Regions from separate parts of the Homo sapiens genome. Here regions 1 and 3 are each linked to region 2. The links are contacts of gene promoters, found by promoter capture Hi-C in blood cells and fetal thymus (Javierre and others, 2016). All regions are on one chromosome and are shown on one strand. Each heading gives the region's core, a stretch centred on a gene start or on the middle of the fragment in contact. The rest is flanking DNA. Distances are from core to core; before and after follow the strand shown. Region 1 overlaps VWF (von Willebrand factor). Region 2 holds the start of NTF3 (neurotrophin 3). Region 3 overlaps VWF (von Willebrand factor).

Region 1 (3,994 bases), core at 3-2,502, 610 kb before region 2:
AATGGGGGCATGGAGGAGGGGAGGCTCTTCTGTCTCCTCCCTGCCAAAGTCAGGGAGGGAGTTGTTAGGAAAATGCCTGGGGTTGATCCTCACAGGATCTGACAAAAATATAAGAACTTAGCTTACAGGAGTGCCATAGGAAGCAAAGAATTTCCAGAAAATACGTACTAGTAAAAACAAGCATTCCCACTAGAATTTTCCCAGGGGCCGCCTTCCATGCTATGAAAATGGAGGGACACATATATATTTGCATATGATTGACGTATATGCATATAATTTTCTATTTCAAAAAAAGACATTGATGGCCCTGCCGTGTCACTAGCAAGCCATGGGCCCAACAAGTCTCTTCCCCACAATGAAACTTGTTTTCCTCATCTGTAATGTGAGTCGTGAGGTCTTGGCCAGCCCTTAACATTCCATGACTCCGGTGCTGTGCCTGAAACAGGCATGGAGGCCGTGCATCCAAGGCCGTGCTGGTTTGCGACTCCTGGCTCCTATGTGGATGTTCTGCTGCTGGTGGCAATGATCTGAGCATGCCTACTCCTCCTTATCTCCCTCCCAAGTCTAATCTTAGCCAGCGTTGTATTAAATAGATTACGCATACATCCTGAAGGATGCAACTTCCAGATGTTTCTCTTTCAAAATGCATCCTGTCTTCTTGTTTTCCCCAACTCCAATTCCTTATACCCAAAGTGAATGGTGAGGAGTTGGGGCAGAGGCTGTGGAGGCCAGAATGGGAGAGGGTGGCTCTCAGATGGCTTTGGAGGGGACTTAGTGTTGCCCAGGACTCTGCTTGAGGGGAAGTGTCCTGGACTGTGGGACCTGTCAATATTCTGTAGAGGGAATGTGGACTCAATTACCAGTGTCTCTCAGGAAGGCTGGGATTGCAGTGTGTGAAGGACAGATGCTTACTTTTCTACTTCCCCTTCAACTCTTTCTTCTCCCAAACAGAGAGACCAACTCTTGTTAATTCTCTCCTCCTCTGTCTTAGCCTCTGAGGGTTTTGGAACTGTCTTTTCTGATGAGGAGAGCTAGCGATTGGCCAATGAGCACCTTTGAACTGGAAGGGTTGTTTGGTGCCTTAGCAGAAGGTGGATATCACGAAGGGTCTCTAAGGTGGGGAATCTCAGACCTGGGTAGGAACAAAAAATAGGAGAGGGCAGGGGAATCTTCCTTATTGCTCTTCTTTATCCCTGGGGCCTCTTAGGTAGAGTGTCTCAGAGCTTTGGTGTGGGGAAAGCATAGATCATTGTCTCTTCATCATACTCAGCAGGAAAAGGAACATCACTCAGAGGACTATGTCAGCATCGGATATGCTTTGAAACAAACTTTTTTGTCATGAAGGAAAAAATACAGATAGCCTTAAATATTAGTAACCACAATAATTATATTATGACCCCAAATCCAAAAAAGAGGACAGCGGGACCTCAAATACAGGCTGTGGCTATCCTGTTAGGCGCTCATTTCATTCCTGAAGCACTGGGCATGCATTCTGAGGACAGCACTTGGATACCTGTCACGTGACGAGGTGACTCGCACTTCAGCCACAGGGGATTCTAACTTGCAGGTTCATATTGTAAGAGATTCGGTTATTTTCACAACTGCTTCCTTACGATGCCGGCGAGTGTGCAAATTATTGCGGCCAGATTCGAGAGAGCAGAGAAGTCCGTGTAATTTATTAAGGGTGCGCAGCGTGCCGCCTGCAGCACGGGACACGTGTTCTTGGCCATAACACAAAGAAAATGGAGCTGGGCCTGGAAACACCCTGTTTGGGCCCATCTGATGGTGCAGACATCATCCCTCGGGGTGTTCCTCTGTCCAGTCTGTCCCTTGTGAAGGGGCAGGGTTGTGGGATGTCACTAAGGGCTTGGGGAAGGGGTCACGGATTCTGCATTCTTCTGAGGACTTGACAGGGGAAAGGGAAGTGGCTTTTTCCCGGGGGCAGATCTGCGGGGGGCAGAAAGAGCAGGAATGGGGTGCAGAGGGCAGACCCGTCAGGCCAGGCTTCCCTGCTTTCCCACTCCATGCTCTTGTGCAATCCTTCAGTCTTTACCGGAAGCCCAGTCACCTCATGTGTTACGTAGACACCGAATTCCTGTTCTGCCTCCATGATGCATGGCTGTGGGCCCCAAGGAGATGTGTGTGAAAGCACTTTAAAGCCAGAGAGTTCTACAGAAGTGTAGGAATAGCTTTCATTGTTGTTTCTGTAACTATCCAAGGCTGTCTCAGAGGCTGCACCCATCAGTTCTTCCTGCTGTCCATAGGAGAGACCTGTAAAGGATGCTTTTTCTTAGATTTCCAGCCTGCTGTGGACCCATGCTTTTGTAAATACAATAAAAATGAATTCTCATAAAAATAAAACAAAAGCAATGACAAAAATAATATGATCCCACCCAACTAAAAAATATTTTCAGCTGGGCGCAGTGGCTCACGCCTGTAATCCCAGCACTTTGGGAGGCTGAGGCGGGCGGATTACGAGGTCAGGAGATCGAGACCATCCCGGTAACACGGTGAAACGCTGTCTCTACTAAAAATACAAAAAATTAGCTGGGCGTGGTGGCGGGCGCCTGTAGTCCCAGCTACTTGGGAGGCTGAGGCAGGAGAATGCCGTGAACCCAGGAGGCGGAGGTTGCAGTGAGCTGAGATTGCACCACTGCACTCCAGCCTGAGCGACAGAGCGAGACTCCGTCTCAAAAAAAAAAATTTCTTTTTTTTTTAAAAATTTTTTTGAGACGGAGTTTTGCTCTGTCACCCAGGCTGCAGTGCAGTGGCATGGTCTCGGCTCACTGCAACCCCCACCTCCCAGGTTCTAGTGATTCTCCTGCCTCAGCCTTCTGAGTAGCTGGGATTACAGGCGCACACGACCACACCCAGCTGATTTTTGTATTTTTAGTAGAGATGGGGTTTTGCCGTGTTGGCCAGGCTGGTCTCGAACTCCTGACCTTAGGTGGTCTGCCTACCTCTGTCTCCCAAAGTGCTGGGATTACAGGTGTGAGCCACCATGCCCGGCCTTAAAAAATGTTTTCTTTCCTTTTTTTCATGATCCCTAAATCTAAACTCTTACTTCCCACTTTTTATGACATATAACAGACATAACATGACTCTGCCAAATTTCCCTAAGATTTTCTAAACACTTTCTCTTAGTTTCTGTGCTTGCGTCCTCACAGGCTGGCCCTGGCCCAGGGAATGCACTTTGAGCAGCCCTGTTCTCAGCCGAAGATTGTCTCTCCTCCTCTAAGGTGCCTCTCAGTGTCCACCGTATGCCCAGAAGCACCTGTTTGAAAATATTGGCGGGGGCAGAGAAAGAACCCCTCTCTTTCTGGTTTGTCCCAGGCCTGGCACCTGCTTAGAGCAGAGGTTTTCTGGTTGACCCCACAAGCTGCAGGCTGTATCTGCTCCTGCCATCGTGCAAAGGTCTCCTGGCATGGGAATGAGGAGGATGGGGGTCCCTTTGCTAAGTGGTCCGCACCGTGATAAATGAAGGGCAGAGAAACCGCCTGGAAACGGCATGGTATCGGAACCTCACACTTCCAGGTTTGAATCCTGCCTCCTAACATCTACTTAAGTGAGTGGCAAGTCACTTAACATCTTGGCGTCTTAATTTTCTTATCTGTAAAACTGGCTTGCAGGCTGTTGGGAAGACTGGAGATGAGAGCAGCGAGCACATGGGAGGTGCTTAGTGAGTGGTGGTTTAATGACCACTAACTATTACAGTAAGTTCGTGGTGGGAAACGGTGAATCCTGCCATGAACAGAGATGCTGCAGGGAATTAGCACACACAGGAGCATCTTTTTAGATCCCAGTGTTCACTTTCTGAGACCTGCCGGATCGATAAAATGAGGGGGTTGTGCTGGAAGATCTCCCAGGTATTTTTCTCTAGTTCAGAAATTCTTGGAGCCATGCTTGCCTGAAGCATCCATCTCTTTAAGTTAGAATATTACCTGCTACCACCACTAGGTGACAGCAAAGCACAACTCACTGCCCTGCTCACCCT
Region 2 (3,869 bases), core at 1,001-3,500:
CAGTCCTCACCAACACAAAATCCCACACACTCTCCCTAGGGGAAATACCCCAGACTTTCTATCTCCCTTCAACACTGTCTACCGGAGCCTGCATTATTTTCCAACCCCCTTACCTCCTAACACGATACCTAAGTCTGTGTGTTTGCGCCCAAGGCAGAGGGGGTTGGAGTTTATCCTCCACATTCTACCTTTCAGCTTTCTTTGTGTGACATGTCAAAAAGGAATTGAGGGCAGGCGGGAGGCAGGCTGAGTACGCTGGAGAACTTCTGAGTGTTGTGAAAACAGGACCTCTGGAAAAGTCTCCTCTATGTTACAACTTTCTCCCATCCTGACGTTTAGGACAGAGCGCTTCCATGTTCTCCTCGTTCGCTGTTTTGCGGGGTAGGAGCGGGCACCTCTTTATTTAAAAAGCAGGTCGCTCAGTGCACTCCATAATCAGCTGAGTTACAAACATCAGGCTCCAGGAGAAACACCCACCCCTTCCAGGCTCCCCTCCCCTCTCAGCAGGCCCTCGCCCCCGCCTCTTCACACACATAAACAAGTCCACAGGCGCACAGTCTCCCGAGCTCTCTAGCTCTGAGCCCGGCGCTCCCGGGAGCAACCTCCATTCGGACTCAGAACCTGCCGCCCGCCGCCAGAGGCCGAGGCCAGACGATCTTTTCGGTGTTTCCCCCACCGGCAATCCCACCCCAGCCTCGATTCCAGCAAAAGGGATCCTTTCTAGTCCACAGCCCCGACACCGTCGGACGCAAGGGTCTCAGTGCCGTGCATCTGAAGCGCAGACGACGAATGAACGCAGCAGCCAAACTCCCGCAAAGAAGCAGCGCCTCCTGGACGCGCACCCACTCCCGCGGAGAGCAACAAGCAGAATCCTACTCCCCCATCCCATGCCCTCGGCCCTCGCCCCTCCTGTCCCTAACCTTCAACTCCCAAGCGTCCCAAATTTCATCAGGAGCATCCACCACTGAGTAAAGCTCTGGGGCAATGGGACAGTTCGGTCCGTCGTGGGACCTTTAAACTCCGACCTGGCTGGCTGCGCGGGTGCCCAGGTCTCCCGGCCTCCCACGCCACCGCTCAAAGTCCGAGAACAGGCTGGACGATACCGCAAGGAGATCCCCTGGGATGGCCGGGCCCGGGTGCCCGCCGCTCCCCGGAGGGGTCCCAGATGTGCGGGCTGCGTACGGAGCTCCAACATCTGCGCAAAGGCCCAGGGTGGGGTGGCCACCGGGTGGGCGCTGGCCAAGAGGAGCCCGGGGCGCGAGGTCTTTTCTGAAAAAACCCTTTCGGGGAACTCCAACGCAGGTACGCGGCGCGTGGCAGTGAGTCCCAACTCCCAAAACTGGAACGCGAGGTTCCGGGTCCTGAGCTGCGCGTCCCCTCCCCCCAGCCCACGCCCGGGCCAGAGTGGTGCTGGGGCGAGCTGAGAATCAGGCTCAGCGGCCGGCAGAGTGCAGGGCGTGTGCAGGGGAGCTGCCGCGGCACCTCCCCGCCCGGAGTTCTGTCTGCCACCCCCTTTTGTTATAGGATGCGCTAGGAGCTTTCTCGGAGGAGCAGGCGGGTCGGTTGGGAGTGGTGGGTGGTTGATTCTGTTGAATCTCTTTCCTGCTCTTTCGTCGTCCCCATTTCCCCTCTTCTGCCCCCACCCTTTCCAATCCAGGTCCCTTAAACCTGATCACTTTCCCAGATTGAGGGAAGCTTCTTGGGCAGCCGAGGGACAAGAGGGGAGGAGGTGGAGAAGGGTGTCCGTGTCTGTGTGTGTGTGTGTGTGTGTGTGTGTGTGTGTGTGTGTGTGTGTGTGTGTAGCGGGGTGGCTGCGGTTGCGCTTCGGCCTGAGCAGATCCCAGCGCAAACTTTGGGGAAGACACAAGCCCGGGAAAGTGAGTGAGCGCGGCGCGATGGGGGTGGGGCGGGATGCGGATCTGGGGCCCCCCGCACCAGTCCACTGGAAAATCCCTCCCCACGTGGACCCCCATCCCCAAACCTGCCCACCCAAGGTGCCCGCCGCCTCCCCTTACCGTGGCAAAAGTAACCATGGCATCCGTGTGGCCGTTTCCAGGGACGTCGACATGAAGAGAAAGGTGGACGCGAGCTCGGTCATTCAAAGTCTCCCCCACCCCGCCGCAGCCACTACCCAGCAGGGGAAAAAGGAGAGGAAGAAAGAAAGGAGAGAGAAGAAAGTAGTTGCGCCGGGCTGCGTCGCGGGGCGGTGCGCGGAGCTGTTCGGAAGGGAGAGGAGCTTCAACTCTGAGTCCCGTGAACAGAATCTGCGCGGTTATAACCAGCCAACCCGGCCAGATGGCTCCGCGCTCAGCGCCTTAACCCCTTCCGCGCCGCGCCGCCCTCCCCCGCCGGCCCGCGCCGCGCCGCGCGCGCCCGCGCCCCAGAGCCCCCCCCCCGCCCTCACTTCGGGACCCGTGGCGGGGAAGGGGTCATTTCTCCTGGCCCCTCTTGAAAAACAAAACCAAACCAAACAACAACAGCAACAAAAACTTCCAAATCTGTAGTATTCTTCAGTAACCCCCACCCTTGAGTTCCCTTTTAGAGATCCAGGAAAAAACGAAACGTTAAATGTATCGTAACAGGTTACATGTTAGTGTCTTCAGCCTTTCTTAGTGGTTCTTTTTCTTGAAATTTTTCTTTTTGATCTTTTTTCTTTCAAGATTTTCTTTACAAGGCATCAGGGCCTTTTCCTGCCTTTTTCCTCAGGAGGATCAGGTCTGAGGCGTAAACTCCTCCTCCAAACCTTAGACCCTTCCAGCTCCAGATCTCTCCCCACCCCCTACCAAGCCCACCCGCCACTCCTCCCCCCACCCCACAGCACGAACACGCCCAAGGACAATCGCTCCCCGGCGAACTCCCCGCTCCCGGGGACCCGCACCCAGGACGCTGTGTCGGCGGTCAAGGGAGGTCAAGGTAGAGGGGCGTGGGGGCGGGTGGTCCGAGGGACTAGGGAGGGGCTGTGTGTGCGCGCGCGTGTTTGCGGGAGCTTGAGTGTGGAAGGGAGAGGGAGATGGATCGCAGCCTCCCATTTCACCCATCCTCCAACTTCTAAACCCCTTCCTTCCAAACTAGGATGGGGCCCTGCAGCTAATCACTCGCCCAGCACCCACCAGTCTGCACGCGGGGACAGCGCGAGAAGCAGGAAAGGCGAGCAACAAACAAACCTGTTCGTGGCGCCCCGAAAGTAATGACGCTCACTTCCCCACCGGTGGATACATTCGAGGAGAGGATAGGGGGAGGGGGTCAAAATCTCTTATTTGGAGATAATTTTAGCTGCCCGTTAGACCTCACTTGCTCCGAGCCGTTCTCTCTAAATTTACCAAGTTAAGTCATCTTGATTTCGCCCATTTGCCATCGAGAGAAGGGGGAAAAATACCACTTAGTGATCAACGAGAAATCGAGAGCCCGGAAGCAGAGTTTTGCCCACTTGCCCGCTTCCCGAGTCCTTGCGTGGTGGACCTCCGCTCCAAGCCCCTCATCCCTTCCTCCCTGCCACTTCAGCCGCTCCTCACATCATCTCCTGCCAGGACCTTTTGACTCACGCGCGACTGGGAAGGGCAGCGAGTATCCCGTTTCCTCCCTGCCCTGTCGTTCGAGGTGTCTAATAAGCAAGCCGTTCCGCGTTTCGGTTAGGGCCCAGGTTCAAAAAATCCAAATACCTTGAAATTGCTTGAGAATTTGGTTAAACATCGGAACTGCACCCACCAGTTCAGGACCAACCGGCCGCAGAGAGTAGCTGGGGGGTTGGATGGGGAGGTGGGAAGGGAGGGGGGAGTCTGGGGGCTGCGTACTAGATAGATTGTACCTGCCTCATCATTATCCTGGCTGATGGGGGTTGCCACATCGAAAACCGCCAGAAGCGCCCACCG
Region 3 (3,948 bases), core at 568-3,067, 530 kb before region 2:
AGCGTCCTCCGCTAGTCTTACTACGTCTTCTGCCACGAAGGGTCTCTGGGACACCTCCTGGGTTGGGGGTAGCTGTGGTGAATTAGGTCTAGGTAGGTCGGCTTGAACTGCCCACGTTGGGCTGAAGTGCCAGTGTTGCCCGAGATGTGAGTCTTCCGTTGCCTCCCAGGGAAGCCAGTGCTCTTACCTAAAGGGAGAGCAGCAGGAGGCAGTTTGTGCTGACAAGTGGTTGAGATGAGGCTTGACAGCTGACTGCTCAAAGAAAGCATGAGGAAGAGAGGTCACTCTGCTGTGGAACCCTGGAAAGGCGTCCCGGAGGAGGGCAACCCTGAGTGGACCTTGAGCAATGAATGGGTTGAATGTCGAATAGACCTTCCAGGGAAGGGCATGGTGAATGAATAACCGGCAGCCAGAAGCCGGGGTGAGAAAAGGGAAACACGGGGAGATGGATGGAAGGGCTGCGAGCCGTCGATGAAATACATGGAAAGGGGCCCTGAGGGGTGTGCAAGGCAGTTTTAGGAGGACAACTGTGTGAGGAAAGCAGGACTAATTGGCTGCTCAGACCTAAACAAGTGAACTCTGGGGCTGGCTGGGAACTTGCTCAGCAGGAGGAGGAAGAGGCTGCTCCTGAGAAGGATGTTTCCTGCGGTGATCAAATGTTCTGGGGAAAACCCAAAGGGCAGCTCTGCCCTCCCCTTGAACGGGGAAATGTGGAACACATACCCCCAGCCAGCAGCAGCCAGGAAATCCAGCAGTGCCCAAACAAGTCCTGTCCATCGTGTGCAGCTGTGGTCTGGCCCTGCCGGGTAGGAGACATGCTGCAGAGCAGGCTGTTCCCTCCATTCACTTCCATGCTCTCTCCTCCCTCCCTTGCTTCTTCCAAGCCCCTGCCACACCCTTAACACTGTTGCCCCCTTCGGCTTATTTTCTGCCTCCTTTCCCTTTTCTTCCAAATCTTTCTTCTCGCATAACTGCCCTCCACCTTTCCTTTTCTTGGCCTAACTTTGCCCTCTGCCTCCTGCTGTGGGGATTTTGCCTCCCTGACTGCCCTGTCCTCACTGGCTTTTCCTTCTGCCTGCTCCTGAAGACACGCCAAGTTCATGGCTTGATTTATGAGAGCAAATGGTTTAAATTAATCTCTGAGCAAGCTTACTGACTCCTAACCTTGACCTTGGGACAGGTCGTCTGTCTGGGTGCTCCAAATTGACTTGGTGATTCATAATAGAAAAGCCTCAGGACCCCAATGAATGGATCTCTGAATGGTGATCACTAAATGTGGCAAAATGAGAAAAAGAATGACAACAGAGTTGGTTTCTCACAAAGCTAAATTGATTCTTTAAAAAATTCTGGGATTATGTGATTACGTTCTTTCTGTTTTTTGGGGGTACGAAGGTGGAAAGGGTCAAAAGAACTATAATTTGTTTTTCTTCTGAAAGCAAAGCTAATAATTTTTAGGGAATGATGAGACAGTAGATGGTAGCTTGGTAGCTTTTTGTATGTATGTATGCATGTATGTATGCATGTATGTATGTATGTATGTATGCATGTATGTATGTATGTATGTATGTATGTATTTTTAGACAGAGTCTCTCTCTGTCGCCCAGGCTGGAGTGCAGTGGTGAGATCTCGGCTCACTGCAAGCCCCGCCTCCCAGGTTCACGCCATTCTCCTGCCTCAGCCTCCTGAGTAGCTGGGACTACAGGCGCCCACCGCCATGCCCAGCTAATTTTTTTCTTTTTTTTGTATTTTTAGTAGAGACGGGGTTTCACCGTGTTAACCAGAATGGTCTCAATCTCCTGACCTCGTGATCTGCCCACCTTGGCCTCCCAAAGTGCTGGGATTACAGGCGTGAGCCACTGCGCCTGGCTGCTTTTTGGTTTTTATTTTATTAAAATTGTTTAAAACACTCTTACTTTGCAAAATAAAAAGTTGCCAGCCCTGTTTTTCTCCCAGTCCTGTGTCTCGAAGCTGCTTCTTTGTCCGATGCAGATATAAATAAGGCGCTCTTACCTTATGCCGCTTCAACAAGTCCCTAGCTGCGCTGAGCTATGATTGCACCACTTGCCCTCCAGCCTGGGTGACAGAGCGAGACCTTGTCTCAAAAACGAAACAAAACAAACAGGAAAACAAGTTCCTAGCTGAACTTACCTCCTCTGTGAGTGTAGGGGTGCCAAGTAGGGGCCAGATGCTGGGGATACAAGAGAACAGCAGAGACACAATTTGCAACTTACCATGCTTCTCAGGGAGAAGTTTTTTCCAGCATTCTATGGGAGTTCCAGTTACTTCCTCACCAATGCTTGGTATTGTCATGCTTTTCAATTTTAGCCATTGTGAAGTGATATCTTCTAGCATTTTTTCCTTACTGCTTCTCTAATTTCAGAATCTTCTAGTATTTTAAATTTGCATTTCTCTGTTGGCTAATGATGTGGAGCATCTTACATACTTATTGGCCATATCATCTTTTGTGATGTGTTTGTTCAAGCTTTTGGCCATTTTTAAATTGGGTTGTTTGCCCTTTAATGATTGATTATGAGTTTTTTTCTGTATTTTGGATACTAGTCCTTTATAAGGTATCTAATGAAATATTTTCTTTCAGCCAGTGGCTCAGCTTTTATTTTTCTTAATTGTGTCTTTTGAAGATCAGAAGTTTAATTTCGATAAAATTCAGTTTATAGATGTTTTTCTTTTATGGTTAGTGCTTTTTATGTCCTGTTTAAGAAGTTTTTGTCCATTCTAAGGTCATGAAGATAGTATCCTATGTTTTCTTTTAGAAGCATTATAGTTTAGTTTTACTTTTAGGTCTATGATCCATGAGGAATAAATTTTAAATGTGGTATAAAGTAGGGGTCTCCCATGTGGCTATCCAGTGGGTCCAGCACCATTTGTTGAAAGATGATCCTTTCCTCATTAAATTATGTCGGTGCCTTTGTAAAAAATGAATTGCTGGCCGGGCGTGCTGGCTCACGCCTGTAATCCCAGCACTTTGGGAGGCTGAGGCAGGTGGATCACCAGGTCAAGAGATCAAGACCATCGTGGCTAACATGGTGAAACCCCTTCTCTACTAAAAATACAAAAATTAGCTGGGGGTGGTGGCAGGTGCCTGTAATCCCAGCTACTCAGGAGGCTGAGGCAGGAGAATCACTTGAACACTTGAACCCAGGGGGCAGAGGTTGCAGTGAGCCGAGATTGTACCACTGCACTCCAGCCTGGTGACAGAGCGAGACTCTGTCTCAAAAAAAAAAAAAAAAAAAAAAAGAATTGCCTGTGTATGTATGGACCAATCGCTAGGCTCCTTTTTTTCTGATCCTTTGTCTATCCTTATGGTCTCACCACTGTCTTGATTACTGTAACTTTATGGTTAGCCTTGAAATTAGATAATTTAAGTTTTTCAACTTTGCTGTTTTTCAAGATTGTTTTGGGTATTTAATGTCCTTTCAATTTCTATATAAATTTAGAGTCATCCTGTTAATTTTTATTAAAAAAATGTTTAAAGTGTGCCGGATTATATTGAATCTATAGGTTAATCTGGAGAGAAGGGATGTCTAGACAAGGTTGAGTTTTTCAATTTATGAACATAGTATATCTCTTCGATTATTTAGGTCTTGCTCTCAGTCTGTGCTGCTGTAACACAATACCTGAGACTGGGTAATTTGTAAAGAACAGAAATTAATTTTTTCACTGTTCTGGAGGTTCAAGATTGAGGTACCAGCAGATTTGATGTCTGATGATGGCCTGTTCCTCATAGGCAGTGCTTTCTCATGGCATCCACATGTGGCAGAAGGTGGAAAGGCAAAAGGCACTAGGGCATTCCCTTTGACTTTTTTTTTTTTTAAATAACAGCACAAATTCACTCAGGAGAGTGGAGCCCTCATGACTTAAATCACTTAGGCCCCATCTCTTAATATCATCAGTTGGGAGTTTAAATCCCAACATAGGAATTTTGTAGGG

Evidence for each region. The method cuts DNA at HindIII sites, captures the fragments that hold promoters and counts their contacts. A CHiCAGO score of 5 or more calls a contact.
Region 1: a contact is called between a fragment that was not itself captured here and the fragment with the promoter of NTF3 in region 2, in 1 of 17 cell types (megakaryocytes). The highest score is 7.5, in megakaryocytes.
Region 3: a fragment that was not itself captured here is called in contact with the fragment with the promoter of NTF3 in region 2 in 1 of 17 cell types (endothelial precursors); the score reaches 5.1 in endothelial precursors.

What each region holds. Positions count from the first base shown.
Region 1 is chr12:6,040,165-6,044,158 of GRCh38, reverse strand. The region is part of intron 18 of VWF (von Willebrand factor); the gene reads left to right. It overlaps SNORA120 (small nucleolar RNA, H/ACA box 120), which reads left to right and starts at 3,976; the gene lies at 3,976-3,994. The HindIII fragment of the contact is 6,812 bases long and covers 1-3,994 here.
Region 2 is chr12:5,430,489-5,434,357 of GRCh38, reverse strand. NTF3 (neurotrophin 3) reads right to left here and starts at 2,250. Exons shown (of 2, transcript NM_001102654.2): 1 at 2,016-2,250. The coding sequence starts at 2,033. RefSeq lists an enhancer at 908-1,433. The HindIII fragment of the contact is 3,984 bases long and covers 1,698-3,869 here.
Region 3 is chr12:5,961,846-5,965,793 of GRCh38, reverse strand. All of the region lies in intron 47 of VWF (von Willebrand factor), which reads left to right. Among named protein-coding and RNA genes, the nearest start is that of ANO2, 19 kb to the right of the region's middle. The HindIII fragment of the contact is 1,334 bases long and covers 1,151-2,484 here.